Regions from separate parts of the Homo sapiens genome. Here region 2 is linked to region 1. Evidence: promoter capture Hi-C in 16 types of primary human blood cells and fetal thymus (Javierre and others, 2016). All regions are on one chromosome and are shown on one strand. Each heading gives the region's core, a stretch centred on a gene start or on the middle of the fragment in contact. The rest is flanking DNA. Distances are from core to core; before and after follow the strand shown.

Region 1 (7,606 bases), core at 3,629-6,128:
CTGGCTGTGTTTGTTTTAACATGATCATGGGATCAGTCTGTCTCAAAAGTGACCTGGCAGCACCCAATTCACGGAGCTCTATCAATTCCAGAACAACCTGGACAATTAAAAAAAAACAAAAAAAACCCCAGATGTTTCAACACACCGTCTTATTAATATTTTTCGGTAAAATATCTAACACAGATATGGCCTGTCAAAGGATTTCCAATACCAGGAAGTGCCCCTTTCCATTTTCACTAGCAATTTCAGGTGGACTTGGTGGGCTTGGTGGCTCATGCCTATAATCCTAACACTGTGGGAGGCCAAGATGGGCGGATCACTTGAGGTCAGCAGTTCGAAACCAGCCTGGCCAACGTGGTGAAACAGACTCTCTACTAAAAATACAAAAAAAATTAGCTGGGTGTGGTGGTATATGCCTGTAATTCCAGCTACTTGGGAGGCTGAGGCAGGAGAATTGCTTGAACCCGAGAGGCGGAGAGTGCAGTGAGCCAAGCTCATGCTACTGTACTCTGGCCTGGGCGACAGAGCGAGATCTGTCTCAATAAATAAATAAATAATAATTTCAATCCTTCAAACTCTATCCTTCATTTTTATCTACCAATCTCCCCTCCTCTCAGGCTTCTTGCTCAGAATGTAGATGCCAAAGAAAGCTAAAGATGGGAATATACCCATGGGCTCCAGAGAAACCTTTCTCCAGTTACCAAAATTTTCTTTGGGAATTATTGAACTCATACGGATTGTAAAGAAACAAACTGCCCAGACACGGCAGCTCACACCTGTAATCCCAGCATTTGGGAGGCTGAGGCAGGTGGATCACTTGAGGTCAGGAGTTGGAGACCAGCCTGGCCAATGTGGTGAAACCCCGTCTCTACTAAACACAAAACTTAGCTGGGCGTGGTGATGCACGCCTGTAATCCCAGCTACTCGGGAGGCTGAGGCAGGAGAATCGCTTGAACCCCGGAGATGGAGGTTGCAGTGAGCAGAGATCGCACCACTGCACTCCAGCCTGGGTAACACAGTGAGACTCTGTCTCAAAAAAAAAACAAAAAAAAAAACCCGTAAACAAAAACCAAAAACCAATTTCACTACTTTTACTTCAAATTACAATCTTATTTCCAGAAAGTCTACTCTGCTGTTTTATAATCACAAATTTGTCTGATCTTTGTCCTAGGTTCTTGGCTTGGAGCTTCTTGGAATTTGACCAGTGATAGGGGTATCTTTGTTACTCCTGGGCCCCTTGAATCACACCTGGGTTTGTGCAAAGGAAATGGCTCAGGATAGGTAGGAGCTAGTTATCAGAAAGACTAACTATGTGATTAGAAAGTTGAGGCTCTCTCGTGCCTGTAATCCCAGCCCTTTGGAAAGTCAAGGCTGGCGAACTGCTTGAGCCCAGGAGTTTGAGACCACCCTGGGTATTATGGTGAGATCCTGTCTCTACAGAAAAATGCAAAAATTAGGCAGGCGTGGTGGTGCGTGCCTGTGTTCCTAGCTACTCAGGAGGCTGAGGCAGGAGGAAGGATTGATCCTGGAAATGGAGGATGCAGCAAGCTGTGATCTTGCCACTGCACTCCAGAGTGGGTAACAGAACAAGATCCAGTCTCAAAAAAAGGAAAGAATTTTAATTTGGGAAATCCTGGATTTTCCAAGAAGGGAGAAAAAATACAATGTCAAGCCTTGCCATTGTTGTATGGGCTGATGCAGCCCTACCGTGCTTGAAGGAATGCTCACTGACGCTTTTTAGTTGGGGAGCTGGCCCACAACGAACCAACCCATGGGGATCAGCATCACCACCACTCTTACCTGTTCATAGAGGTCAATGAGGGTTTTGTCTGGCAATTTCAGAGACTGTATAGCCTGCAACACAGTATCCCAATGGCCACTGTTAATGTCAGCCACAAAACTCTCAATGCTGTCCACAGTATTCAGAGACACAGTAGTCTCCTCCTGCAAGGTGGCTAACGCCCGATGTAAACTGTTCTCCTTCAAGTACTGCATAATAAGGCGGATCACACTGAAAGAAAACAAATCGTTCAGCTCAGGGATTCTCACTCACCAGAGGTCAAAAATAAAGCCTATCAAGCTCCTACTCAATCATCTTCCTTTCACTACTATTTCTTTATCATGTGAGTAAAATTTTCCAAAATCACAGAATCTAAATTATAAGGGGACCCCCCCTAACCATAGAGACAGAACTGGGGTTCAAGGAAAGGAAATCATTTGCCTAATGTCTCAGTCAGCTAGAAAGGGAGTTGGTGTCAAGGTGACTATCTTATTTCCTAATCCAGAGCCTAGTTTCCTATTCATTCTTGTAATTATATTGTAGCACACTTCACTGAAATACTTTAAATGACTAGACTAGTTATTTATACAAAATAATCTAAATGAGGTTGGGCATGCTGGCTCATGACTGTAATCTCAGTAATTTGGGAGGCTGAGGCAGGAGGATTGGCTGGAAACCAGGAGGTTTGAGACCAGATCAGGCAGCTGTGAGACCCCATCTCTACAAATTTTTTTTTAAATTAGCCAAACATGGTGGCATGTGCCTGTAGTCCCAGCTACTTGGGATGTTGATGTGGGAGGATCCCTTGAGCCCATGAGTTCAAGACCAGCATGGGCAACATAAGAAGACCCCTTCTCTACACACACACACACACAAAAAAAAAAATTAGCTAGGCATGATAGTGTGTGCTTGTGGTCCCAGCTACCTGGGAAGCTGGGGTGGGAGGATTGCTTGTATCCATAAGGTTGAGGCTGCAGTGAGCCGTGATCATGCCACTGCACTCTAGCCTGGGAAAGAGAGCAAGACCTTGTCTCAAAAAAATAAATAAAATAAAACCTATGAGGTAAGTTTACTTTTATCCCCAATTTACAGATGAGGATTTGATCAGATAATAGAGATAATAAGTGGAAAAATCAGGACTCAAACTGGCAGTGTGGCTCTAGAGCATGTATTCCTGAGGAGAAAGCAAACATCCTCTTTTTTTTTTTTTTTTTTGAGAAATGGTCACTTGCATCGCTCAGGCTGGACAGAATAGTGGCGTGATTGTGGCTGACTGCAGCCTGGGCCTCCTGGGATCAGGTGATCCTCTCACCTCAGCCTCCCGAGTAGCTGAGACCACAGGCATGCACCACCACACTGGCTAATTGTTGTATTTTTTGTAGAGACGTGGTTTTGCCATGTTGACCATGCTGGTCTCAAACTTCTGGGCTCAAGTGATCCATCCACCTCAGCTTCCCAAAGTGTTGAGATGACAGGTGTGAGCCACCGCACCTGGCCCCTCTTCTTAAAAACAACTATAGGCCGGCCGCGGTGGCTCACGCCTGTAATCTCACCACTTTGGAAGGCCGAGGCGGGCAGATCACAAGGTCAGGAGATCGAGACCATCCTGGCTAACACGGTGAAACCCCGTCTCTACTAAAAATACAAAAAAATTAGCCGGGCATGGTGGTGGGCGCCTGTAGTCCCAGCTACTCGGGAGGCTGAGGCAGGAGAATGGCGTGAACGTGGGAGGCGGTGCTTGCAGTGAGCGGAGATCGCGCCACTGCATTCCAGCCTGGGTGACAGAGTGAGACTCCGTCTCAAAAAAAAAAAAGGGAACTGATTGCTGCTACCTGCAGTAGTCTTTTTCTCTCATGGCCCCTTTATGAGGTATGCAGGTATCCAGACTTAGACCCCTGTTATTCTGCTATGATACTATCTTCCTTAGCACATGTCCGTTGACTTCCATTTTACACTCCCAAAATAAGTCATCTCTCTCCTCAAACAGCTCACATTTGACATAGCCAAAATCAAATTCCCTACCTTCAAACAGAAATGAATACATAAAGAGCTAGAAGCTTTGAAGATAGTCTGGGATTTGAATCAAAGTTATGTGACCTTGGACAAGTAGGTTAACATCATTTCAGTATTTGCTGAATGCATAAACCTCCCTTCCTCCTATGAAAAGTCTCCAAAAAAGGTCCTCTCCCTCCCTTACACTCAGACACAATTTTTATGTCTGTTAATTTAATTATTATTAAGTGTTGGCAAGGACAGGTGGAGGATGGAGTTCTGGAAAAGCACACTAAGGTCTTCTTTAGTCACTAATTCTCATCCCCTATTCCTTGAAAATTTTTCTTTCTAGCCCAGTCTCCAGTCTGTCTCTCCCCAGACAACCCAAAATTCCGTGCCAGATCGGGCCTGATAGTTGTTCATTCATTCCAAAAGCTAGTTGTTCATTCATTCCAAAAGCAATTAACTCTTCCTCTAAGGTATGCTAGACACTGAGACCACAAGGAAAAGGAGCTCCTAGGCACCGACAAAGGCTAGTTTGGGGTGAGGTTATCAAACAGTGACAATACTGAGTGATAAACGCTAGGCAGAGAAAAGCAAAGGGGCCGTATAAGCAGAGACAACGAATCACATTGCATAAGCTGGACAGGGAGAGAAGCAAGGCTTAAAGAGACCTATCCCCTTGCGCAGATAATTAGACTGGAGTCCAGAGTGGATCCTTAATTTGGTCAATCACAGCGCGCCAGCAGTCGGCCAAGGACAGAACTTAGGTCTGCAAGGTGTGTTTTCCCCACCCGTGCCACCTCCCTCGAGGTTTTGGGCTTCACGTCTGAGAGCTGCTACTTTCCTGTGGGCCCACCTCCGAGGTAGCGAGATCCAAGATGCTTCTTTGGGGGCAAGGAAATGGCCCTCCACTCCCTGGCCTCTCGGATGCCTTCTCCCGAGTACCCTCCGCCCCACACCCTTAACCTCCAGGCCCCCGGCAAGGCGCGAACATCCCCACCGCAGGACTCACTCCGAAGATTCGATTTCGATCGACATAGCCGTATCTCTCCGGGAGCAGGCCCCAGCTCTCCCTCAAGGCCAGTCGCGCAACACACCAACGACACCTCCGGCGGACACCTAACGTCACTTCCGCTTGGGTCGGCGTCTGGCTCCCGCTCTGGAGATAGAGTGAACGAAGAGTAGGGGCGAGGTTCGCGTAGGGGCGGAGCCCTCAGGGGCTGTCAGAGGGCGGAGTTTATGCCCCTGCCCCAGAGAAATACGCATCAGGAGGAAGACTGTTTAAAAGCAGGCCGGAGCCGGGTGCGGTGGCTCACGCTTGTAATCCCAACACTTTGGAAGGCCGAGGCGGGCGATCACCTGAGGTCGTGAGTTCGAGACCAGCCTGACCAACATGGAGAAACCCCCGTCTCTACTAAAAATACAAAATTAGCCGGGCGTAGTGGCGCATGCCTGTAATCCCTACTCGGGAGCCTGAGGCAGGAGAATCGCTTGAACCCAGGAGGCGGAGGTTGCGGTGAGCCGAGATCGCGCCATTGCACCCCAGCATGGAAAACAAGAGCGCAACTCCGTCTCAAAAAAAAAAAAAAAAAAAAAAGAAAGATAGAAAAGAAAAAGAAAAAAAGCACCGGGCGCCATACAGCTCACAAATGTACTGAAAAAGAAAAGCGCTGGGGCGGAGCGCGGTGGCTCGCGCCTGTACTCCCAGCGCGCGAGTTCGAGACCAGCCTGGGCAACATGGTGAAGCCCCGTCTCTACTAAAAATACAAAAAATTAGCCGGGCGTGGTGGCGGGGGCGCCTGTAATCTCAGCTACTCGGGAGTCTGTGGCAGGAGAATCGTTTCACCTCTGGAGGTGGATGCGGTGAGCCGAGATCACACCATTGCACTCCAGCCTGGGCAAGGAGAGCAAAATTCCGTCTCAAAAGAAGAAAAGAAAAGTAGTGGTGATAAGATTGTAGTAAGAAAAGCAAAGAAAAGAAAGAAGAAAAGAAAGAAAAGAAAAGAAAGAAAAGAAAGAGCACTGGTTTGGAAAGATTGCTTTTTTTTTGAGACGGAATCTCGCACTGTCGCCCGGGCTGAAGAGCACAATGGCGCGATCTCGGCTCACTGCAAACTCTGCCTCCCGGGTTCAGGAGATTCTCTTGCCTCAGCCTCCGGAGTAGCTGGGATTACAGGTTTCTTGCCATCACGCCAGGCTAATTTTTTGTATTTTTAGTAGAGATGGGATTTCACTATGTTGGTCAGGCTGTTCTCGAACTCCTGACCTCGTGATCCGCCCGCCTCGGTCTCCCAAAGTGCTGGGATTACAGGCGTGAGTCACTGCGCCCAGCCAATGTTGCTTTCGTTTGATGTAATTAGTTGATTAGATTTAAGATGAGGCTGAATATGCAATACCTGATGGGATATTAATACATTCAAAACCAACATAACACTAGCCAAAATTTATAGGAAGAGTTAATTGAGGATTTTGGTTGGTTGGTTGGTTTTGCGTTTTTTTGAATCAAGGACTCGCTTTGTTGCCCATGCTGGAGTGCAGTGTCTCGATCGTGGCACACTGCAGCCTCGACCCCTCCAGCTCAAGCAATCCTCCCACCTCAGCCACCCAAAGTGCTGGGATTACTGGCATGAGCCACCACGCCCTGTCACGGGACTTTAGGTCAAACACATTATTACATTTGTAGTGACAAATGAAATGTAGAGATATCAGTGAACTTCATACATAAAACCTATTTTTAAATATTTTATTGCTGTTGTATATAAATTGTAAAAATTATTTGCAGCACAGTAATAATAAATCTGGCCAGGCGTGGTGGCTCACGCCTGTAATCTCAGCACTTTGGGAGGCTGAGGCGGGTGGATCACCTGAGTTCAGGAGTTGGAGACCAGCCTGGCCAACATGGTGAAACCCCGTCTCTACTAAAAATAAGAAAATTTGCCAGGCAGATAGGTGTGCATCTGTAATCCCAGCTACTCGGGAGACTGAGGCAGGAGAATCCCTTGAACCCGGGAGGCAGAGGTTGCAGTGAGGAGAGATCGAACCACTGCACTCCACCCTGGGTGACCGAGTGACCAAAAAATAATAAATAAATAAATAAATAAAATAAATCTGTGTTCCGAAATTACATATTGAAATGATGTATTTGTAGATTTCCTGATGGCTTTCAGTCTTATCTGATTCTGTGCCTAAAGGTCTGCCATACAACTTGTCCATAACCTCTTAAATACTGCTTCTTTTGTCAAATCATCCTCTATTTCCTATCAATTCTTGAAGGACATGGTCTCCAAGGTTTCAAATGTTTTAGAGTCTCCATGCTTGCCTTGACATGTAGTGAGATATCAACATGGGTTATATGGTTTATGAGATACTCCTTCACTATTCTATCCCATAACAGCACAAAATTATTATAACTTCTTCCTTGAAAAGAAGACCCAGCTCATCGCAACAATAGCATATGTCCTCATTTTCTCTACCTAGTACTTGTCATGTTACTCTTAAATTCAGGTTACTTCTCTATTTTGTTTATACAAATAAATCTTCTCTATGATTACTTAACACCAGGTTTTATTCTAATATCCACCACACCTCTGCTTTCATTTTGAATGGAATGGCTTCTCTTCTTATGACTCCTATTACATCCAAGCTTGTTCATTATTTATAGATGTGAGCATCTTATTGCTTCATTATGTCTTTTGTAGTAACACCCTAGGATTTTGATATTGAACTACATATTACTCTATTTTATAACAAATTAATTTATTTTTATTTTTCCTATATATTTAGCATTATATTGATTTTTTCATTATCTGCGTAAGTAGATTTTTCTTTCTT
Region 2 (7,606 bases), core at 3,559-6,058, 52 kb after region 1:
CCTTCTCTTGGTACACTCCCCAACAACTGCAGCAGAGGGCTCTTTGAGGCCATGTCTCTACCATAGGACTGGGCCTACTGGCCTTGGCTGTTTGATCTAAGCAGAGGCCTAACTGAGACTGAACTAAGCATTTTTCCTCTCCCAGGAATTGGAATTTTGGAACCACGAATGAGCACCTCTGCAGCCAAGGCCCATGAGCAATGGCACCCTGGAGGAGAAGCCCAAGAAGCAGACCTGGTTCCAGCCCCTTTCACCGCCCGGGGTGCCACGGCCCTTTCAACGTGGTGAGATGCCCCAGTGTCCGGCCCAGACTTAAAATTGGTCAGGCAGTTTTCCAAAATAACCTGAACTATATATCCCTCCCTTTCTCCCTCATCCCAGCCTGGCCTCATCTGTGGGATGCAGTGAGACGGAAGGGCATGGTGCACTTTAGCAGGTGCTATCATCTATCAGGGGCCGTGGGTACACCAGGCCAGCAGAACAGTGGAGGAGGAAAGTGTCCTCCCCGGAATGACAGAAAAGTCAAGCATTTTCTAGGCTGCTTTGGGTGAAATGCTGTAACACTGGGGCACACACCTTCTTTGATAAGAAAGACAGGCCCTGGCAAGCTCACCAAGCCCCACCACTCACAAGAGGCGGGAAGACGCCCAGCTTCACTCCTGCCCTCCTCACTGAGCACACTCATCGGTACCTCTGCCCCTCCATTTGCTCAAGTAAACATTGATCAAGCACCAAATACACCACAGTGACAGACACATGCATTTTTAATCCCAGGAATGCTGGCTTCTTTATTTATTAGCTATGTGACTTGGGGTACATCACACCTCCAGGCCTCAGTTCCCTCTTTTGTGTTATGGGGAGAGCATGTGCATTGTATTAAATGAGACAACATTGTCTACCAACATAAGATTAGGTCCACCCTTTAAAAGCTGGGTTTTTCAGAATTAAGAAGACCCAGCCCGGGGAGGCTGAGGTTGCAGTGAGCCATGACAGCACCACCGCACTCCAACCTGGGTGACAGAGACCCCATCTCAAAAATGGGGCCCCACTGCCTGACAACAAATGTTGGCTACTATCATTACAGGAAGAGGCTTTCCCATCCATCTTGAACAGTCAGACCATTCCAAATGTCTCTTAGATATCCTACCTGGAGACTCTGCCTTCTGTAGTGTTTGCTTCAAAATTCCTCCCAAATCCTGCTTCTCTGATGAATGGGAAATTACTAAAAACATTTAAGGCTCAAGGGAATTAGCCTGTGGCTTACATGATTAGAGTTTCTCACAGCAGAAGAGAGTCAGGGGGACCTCTGGAGGCCTGTGAAATGCGTAGGAAGTCACGCTTGGTGAAGAGAAGCCAGCATGCTGGGTGCAGGTGTCCCTTTCAAAGACGCAGCTTTTAAAGGGTGGGCCTAATCTTATGTTGGTAGACAAGAGTTACAGTTATCCCTTCCTTCTAGGTCAACTGGCTGCTTTTAGAAGGAGAAGACAGGCCCCCAAAAGAAAGGCCAGAAAACATATAAAATCCCCAAATGATTGAGCAGAGACTGCCACAAGATGGGGACTGGAGACAGCAGACAGAATCGACCAGACATAGACTCTGGAGGCGGTGCTGGGAGAGAAGGCATCTGTAGGAGCAGAGAAAAGCATGCATGGTGAGAGCATTTGTAAAGGCGGTAAGGAAAAGAGAACAGCCAAGGAACTACAAGAAATTCCGAATGAGTGAAGCCAGAATGAAACATGAAGGCAGCGATGAGCCAAATCACCGAGGCTGGGGAGAAGGGTTAGGTGCTTGTTAAGATACTTAAGCTTTATCTTTATTTAGGCCACAGGGAGCCTTAAACCATGGTTTATATGTCAAGGAGGGATTTGTGCCCCAATCCAACTGAAGGCAAGGAGACCAGTTAGGAAGCTGTTGTATGATTCCTATGAGGCAACAACCGTGGGTAAGCAGACAGTGCCTCCCCCAAGGGCCAAAGGCAGGGGCTCCACTTCCACTTCCATGCCCCACCTGCTCCCTGTGTATGTGCACTACACTTGCAAGCAGCCTTTGTAGGGGCGGGGCGAGAGGTTCAGGACAGGTGCTAGAATCTGGTCTAATCCCCAAGAAAATCCTAACTGTGGTTAAGGAAGGCAAGTGTGGCCTTCCCCTGATTGCAACAGGGGACAGATGACCAACTACAGAAAGCCAAGGGCCACTCTTGTCCAAGTTCCAACAGCTTCTGGAAGAACTGTTCTGTCCAATCACCCTGCCTTCCCTGGATGTCAGGTCCATGTGTGTATATCAGCAGACACATCCCTTATCCATAATGGCTTAGGGACCAACTGTGCCCAGCCTCTCCTGCACCAAAAGACACAGCAGCAACATGGCTGGAACCATTAACCCAAAGCCAAGACTCGCAATGAGTCAGAACTTCTACGTGATAAGAGAGACACTGTTGCTCCTATACACATGCCCTGGCTCATCACAGAGCCACACCCCTCCCCACCATGCAAGAACGCAGCACTAAGCTCTCAACAGGACAGATCCGGGGGCAGGTCTGCAGCCAGTGGCAATGTTTGCTGAAACACCCTCTGTATGCTTTTCTGTGCCCACTGAGACAGTAAGAGGAAGGAACTAGGCCGAGTGGGTTGCATGAAACAGTAACAGATCAGCGGCAGCAGAAGCTCTGACGGGGCATTCCTATAGGCCTAAGTGTGGATCCTGGAACAGTGGACAGGCTGGGAGATGATCCCCAGAGAATTACTGGAAACAGCCTGGGATTATACAAATGCTGAGTTTGTGGAGGGCTAATAATATCTACTCAGCCATGAGTTCACAGCAGTTGGGCTCTAGTTTTGCTTTTGTTGTTGTTGTTTTTTTGCAGGGGAGACAGGGTCTCGCCATGTTGCCCAGGCTGGCCTTGAGCTCCTGGACTCCAGCAATCTTCTCACCTCAGCCTCTTGAGAAGCTGGGACTGTTAGCACATGCCACCACACCCAGCTGGGCTCTAGTTGTTAAACATTGTTAACTATTGTTAACCATAGTTAACCATTGTTAACATTGTTAACTATTGTTAACCATAGCAATATGGTAGCTCAGAGCTCTCAACAAAACTTGGATCTGAGATTTAAACTCTTCACCCCAGTGAGTGAGAGAGATGGGCCTTCAAGGGTTAGGGACCAGGCTATGGGAGTGGTTCTTGGTCAACCAAAGACACCACTCTCAAGAGTGAGCATACCCTTGACCCCTGCCACACAGGAACACAGACTGGACTGAGGCTATAAAGTTGCTTTCAGAGAGAACTGAGCTCCTTGAAGAGCCCAACAGGGATTCTGGGTGAAGTGAGCACAGAAGAGACAGTTTTTGTTTGTTTGTTTTTTTGTTTTGTTTGTTTGTTTTTTTAAAATGGAGTCTCACTCTGTCGCCCAGGCTGGAGTGCAGTGGCGCGATCTCGGCTCACTGCAAGCTCCGCCTCCCGGGTTCATATCATTCTCCTGCCTCAGCCTCCCGAGTAGCTGGGACTTTTCAAGTGCCCGCCACCACGCCCGGCTAATTTTTTGTATTTTTAGTAGAGACGGGGTTTCACCATGTTAGCCAGGATGGTCTCGATCTCCTGACCTAGTGATCCGCCCACCTCGGCCTCCCAAAGTACTGGGATTACAGGTGTGAGCCACCACGCCCAGCCAGAGGAGACAATTTTAAACCCAGCTCCAAGGAGCCAGCGCAGGATGCCTGCCTCTCCCAGGGCCCGACACACTGAAAAGTGGAGACGTGGCTTTCCGCAGATATATCAAGACAGTGGTGCTAAGCATGTTCAGGATGTTTAAGATACAAGTTGGAGAAAAATACTTAAGAAAAGCTTCTCTTTCAGAAAGCAATTTGGCCATCTGTATTAAGAACTATAAAAATGTGTAAACCATATCTGAACCCATAATCCCACATCTGAAAATCTAGCCTGGGAAAATGATCCTAAATGTGGAACAAACCAACACAGAATAAACTTCAGACTCCAAGATGTTCATTATGGTATTACTTACACTCACGGAAAATTGGACATTACCTAAGGGACTTCTAAGAGAGAAAAGACAAGTTAATTATGATGGAATTCTACGATCAACTACTATGAAGGTATGGAAAGTGATGATGATGAAGACTATGAAATAACATGGGAAGATGCTGATGATAAAGAATTTAAGGAAAAAGCAGGATACAAAAGTTTATACACACACAGCATGAGCTCAACTGTGGTTTAATTTAAAAGAAGTTAAACTCTCAGACCCTGTATGACGGGCTGGCTTCCAGCAACCTCAGCATTTCCGAGAGAGCCCACAGAGGCCCTGGTCTTGCCTAGGAGACCCCAGGGCCTGAGGATGGCACACTCATGGGATTATTTACATAGCCTCCCCCTGACCAGCAGGGCCCTGGCTCTGGGTTGATTTGAGGACATGTGAACATTACCAGGGTGGTGGTGGCAGCGGTGGTGGCAGCAGCAGTGGCAGCGGTAGTTAGGTCGGCATTCCTCTCTCTCTCTCTCTCTCTAGGAGGCGGAAAGTACAGAAGAGAAGGTAGGTGGAGAATAAGAAGCAGATCAGAGAGGAACTCCTCCTTCCACTTGCTTTGCTACAAACAGGATTAACAAGTAAAGGTAAAAGGCCCCTGCTAGAAGGAAAACAAAAAAGAAGAAAAAGAGAAAAGGGTGGATGCAAGGGAGAGAGGTGAGGAAAAGAGAGGCAAATGTCAAAGCTGCAAGGGAAAAGGGGCCCATTCTGATGACCACTGTTCCAATGCAAAAACAAATTCCTAATAAGCTGTCATTCCTTGTCACAGAGTCATGGGTGAGCAGAAAAAATGGCATTTCCCAGAACAATGTCCATGGAAGCAATTCACCAGCAAATTGAGTCCCCAGAGAACAGAGACACACATAGACTAGGTGGGGCACACAGCAAAGGGGCAACACTCAAACAGTGATGGTGCAGAGACACTCCCTGGCCTTCCCACTCCCATTCCCCACCCCGGCAAGCTCCAAAGGGTCCAAGTGCCCGAAGGAAGGGGAGGCTACAGGACAGGACCAGCCCTACCCCACTCCTCCCAAGCTCCGTTCCCACACACATCAATCTGTGCACTGACAGCTGAGGTAGAAAATGGAAGGCCGGGATGGGGGGATGGTAGAGATGATCAAGATAGAAACCAAACCAATGAGGCCATAAGCCCAGGCAGCTGTCCTCACTAATGGGATAGACCCAGGAGTCTGCTTCTCCCCAGTTGATCTTGACCTTGTGTAGGAACCAGCTGCTTGGACCAGTGACAGAGACAACTGCTGAGGTAGGGTGACAGATACTCTTGCTCACTGAGGGTACAAAGGACTGTCTCCAAATCCATCCTCAACCAGCCTGGAACTATCACCCCATCATCCTAAAACAGTGCACAGAAGAAAAGGAAACAGTAGAAAACTTCAAAGCCAGACAGAGTCCTCAGGGCAGCCCTCCCTCCATTTCTCCACAGCCTTTCAGGCAGGCTCCAGCTCTGCTTCCTGGCCATCGTGTGCTTACCTGTGGAGCCTTCCCTCTGCAGGAACAATCAGAAGACCATTTGCCTTACTCTGGGGGATGGGGGGAGGTGGGAGGTTCAAAATTCAAAGTGAGACCATAAAGGTGCTGAGTCCAAAGGACCCTAAAGGAGTTTTGTGACCATTAACAATCACAAGGCTAAGGTATTAATAGGTTTTCTGCATTTTTCCTGATAAGGGAGGTCACCCCAAGGACTGTCACAGGCAGCCTGTGCTCTGGTCAGCATTGAGCTGGAAGCTTCGGGGAGAGGCCCAAGGGAGGGATCCTGCAAGTTCCCAAGGGTCAGGACCTGGCCCCACTGGGAACGGAGGCTTCACTTCCAAGAGGCACAGATTTAGGCAGAAGACCAGGAGTAGGGAGTCCTGAGACTAGGGATAAACAAAGGGGCAGGAATCCTGGAGAGAAGCCCCGTGCTCCACTCACTGACTGCGTCTGTACTGACTATGTACCAGCTGTGTGGTCAGAGAGAAAGAAGGGAGGCAGACATGAGGGACTCAGAGTCCGGGGGCTGGGGTGAGGCTGGAACTCAGATAATCATCCCTTTCCAGAAAGTTCTGAGCAGCCTGGGAGCAGCAGGGAAGGAGAAGTCAGCTCTATTCCAGGGGCTCCACAGAACTAATGAGGTTGGGGAGGGAAGCTTAAAAGATAGCCAGAGACACACTAGGAACACAGGGGACAGCATAAGCAAAGGCACACAGAGGGGAGAACAGAGGTGTCTGGGTGGAGATGGGGAGTCCAGTGAAGTGGAGAGGAGGAGGAAGTGGCTGGAGGTAGGTCAGGGTCTCGGATGCTAAGCTTGGGCCTTCCGACCATTTAGACCGTTGCCTGTAGGCAGTCGTGAAATGCTAACAGGTTTAAAAGAGGAAGTAACATGGTCAGAACCAGAAAAATCCTGGGCAGCTGAGGGAGAGGAACAGAGGTGCCAGAAGATATGCAATCGGAATTGGAGAGACCAGTTCTGTGTACTGGCTGTGGGGCAAAGGGCTGCCATGGTTGTGACAAACCCACCTGGCCAGCTGTGCCTGCATTCCTTACTCATTTTGTAATTTTTATGATGGGCAATCCCACAAACATTCTGCATTCCTTAATTTAGGGCTAGTGCTACCAGGTGGTGACCTGCCCTCCCTTCACCTTGAGTGAAGTCTCGTTTCCGGGTTTGAGTATTAGGAAATGCAGCATGCATCCCTGTTTGCTATGATGTCTTCTCCTTCTGTTGCTTCTTTTCTTGCTGCCGTTGAAGTTGGAATGCTATATCTTGAAATCCACGTCTCAGAGTACAAGGAGTCAAATAGTATTCTCCCATGCTGGTGAGCTAAGGTCAGGGGTGGGAGGAGAGACCTTAAGGAAAAAGAGCAACTCTTGTTCTTCTATATCTCAACCAGGAAAGCCTCTCCCGGCTCATTCCTTCAATATCCTTATTTTAAGATATAAGTTAGTACAATAATTACAGAGGCATAAGCCAAATGGGAGTGGTTAACAGCTTACTATAGACAGAGTATGAGTCATAACAACTTGTGAAAGTTCACTCCTGTGTGTAAAGCTTGATACGTGGCCCTATTTTGAAGAGGCTTATAGGCCCGGGATGGCCTCTGAGATTCTGCCACCTGGCTCACTCCACTATCCATTACCCTCTGACTCCAAGGAGTTCAAACCAATAGGAGGAAGGGTCCTGATGCGGGCCCTGAGTGGGGGTGCAGCAGGAGGCGGTGGGAGCCATGAAGAATTCACCACCACAGAAGCAGGCAGAGGAAGCAGGCAGAGGAAACAGGCAGGATGAATGGAGAGTGGAGAGGCAGGAGTGGACCCTCCTAGTAACGGCTGGTATTTACTGAAGGTTTACCATGAGAAGGATGCCTCATAACCCTCCCCACCAAGGAGGAAACTGAGGCCTGCAGAGCTTAAGTAACCTGCCTGAGGTCACTGACTGTAAAGTGGCAGTGCCAGGACTGAACCCAGGCAGTCTGAGCACACAGCACACTCTCAGCCCTGGATACCAGACTGTGAGCAACACTGGGGGCACCCTGGCCATGAGGAGTGTCACTGATGCCCTGAGAAGGCAC

Evidence for each region. Contacts are between HindIII fragments. The CHiCAGO score rates a contact against its expected background, and 5 or more counts as called.
Region 2: a fragment that was not itself captured here is called in contact with the fragment with the promoter of SMU1 in region 1 in 5 of 17 cell types (total B cells, naive B cells, monocytes and 2 more); the score reaches 10.8 in total B cells.

Annotation. Positions count from the first base shown.
Region 1 is chr9:33,071,796-33,079,401 of GRCh38, forward strand. SMU1 (SMU1 DNA replication regulator and spliceosomal factor) reads right to left here and starts at 4,879. Exons shown (of 12, transcript NM_018225.3): 1 at 4,788-4,879; 2 at 1,801-2,011; 3 at 1-97. The coding sequence starts at 4,813. RefSeq lists enhancers at 4,741-4,890, 5,061-5,260. The HindIII fragment of the contact is 3,581 bases long and covers 3,836-7,416 here.
Region 2 is chr9:33,123,599-33,131,204 of GRCh38, forward strand. The region is part of intron 2 of B4GALT1 (beta-1,4-galactosyltransferase 1); the gene reads right to left. LOC124902141 (a long non-coding RNA gene) reads right to left here. Exons shown (of 2, transcript XR_007061455.1): 1 at 6,678-7,606; 2 at 4,213-5,391. Among named protein-coding and RNA genes, the nearest start is that of MIR12117, 19 kb to the left of the region's middle. RefSeq lists an enhancer at 1,223-1,272. The HindIII fragment of the contact is 1,945 bases long and covers 3,837-5,781 here.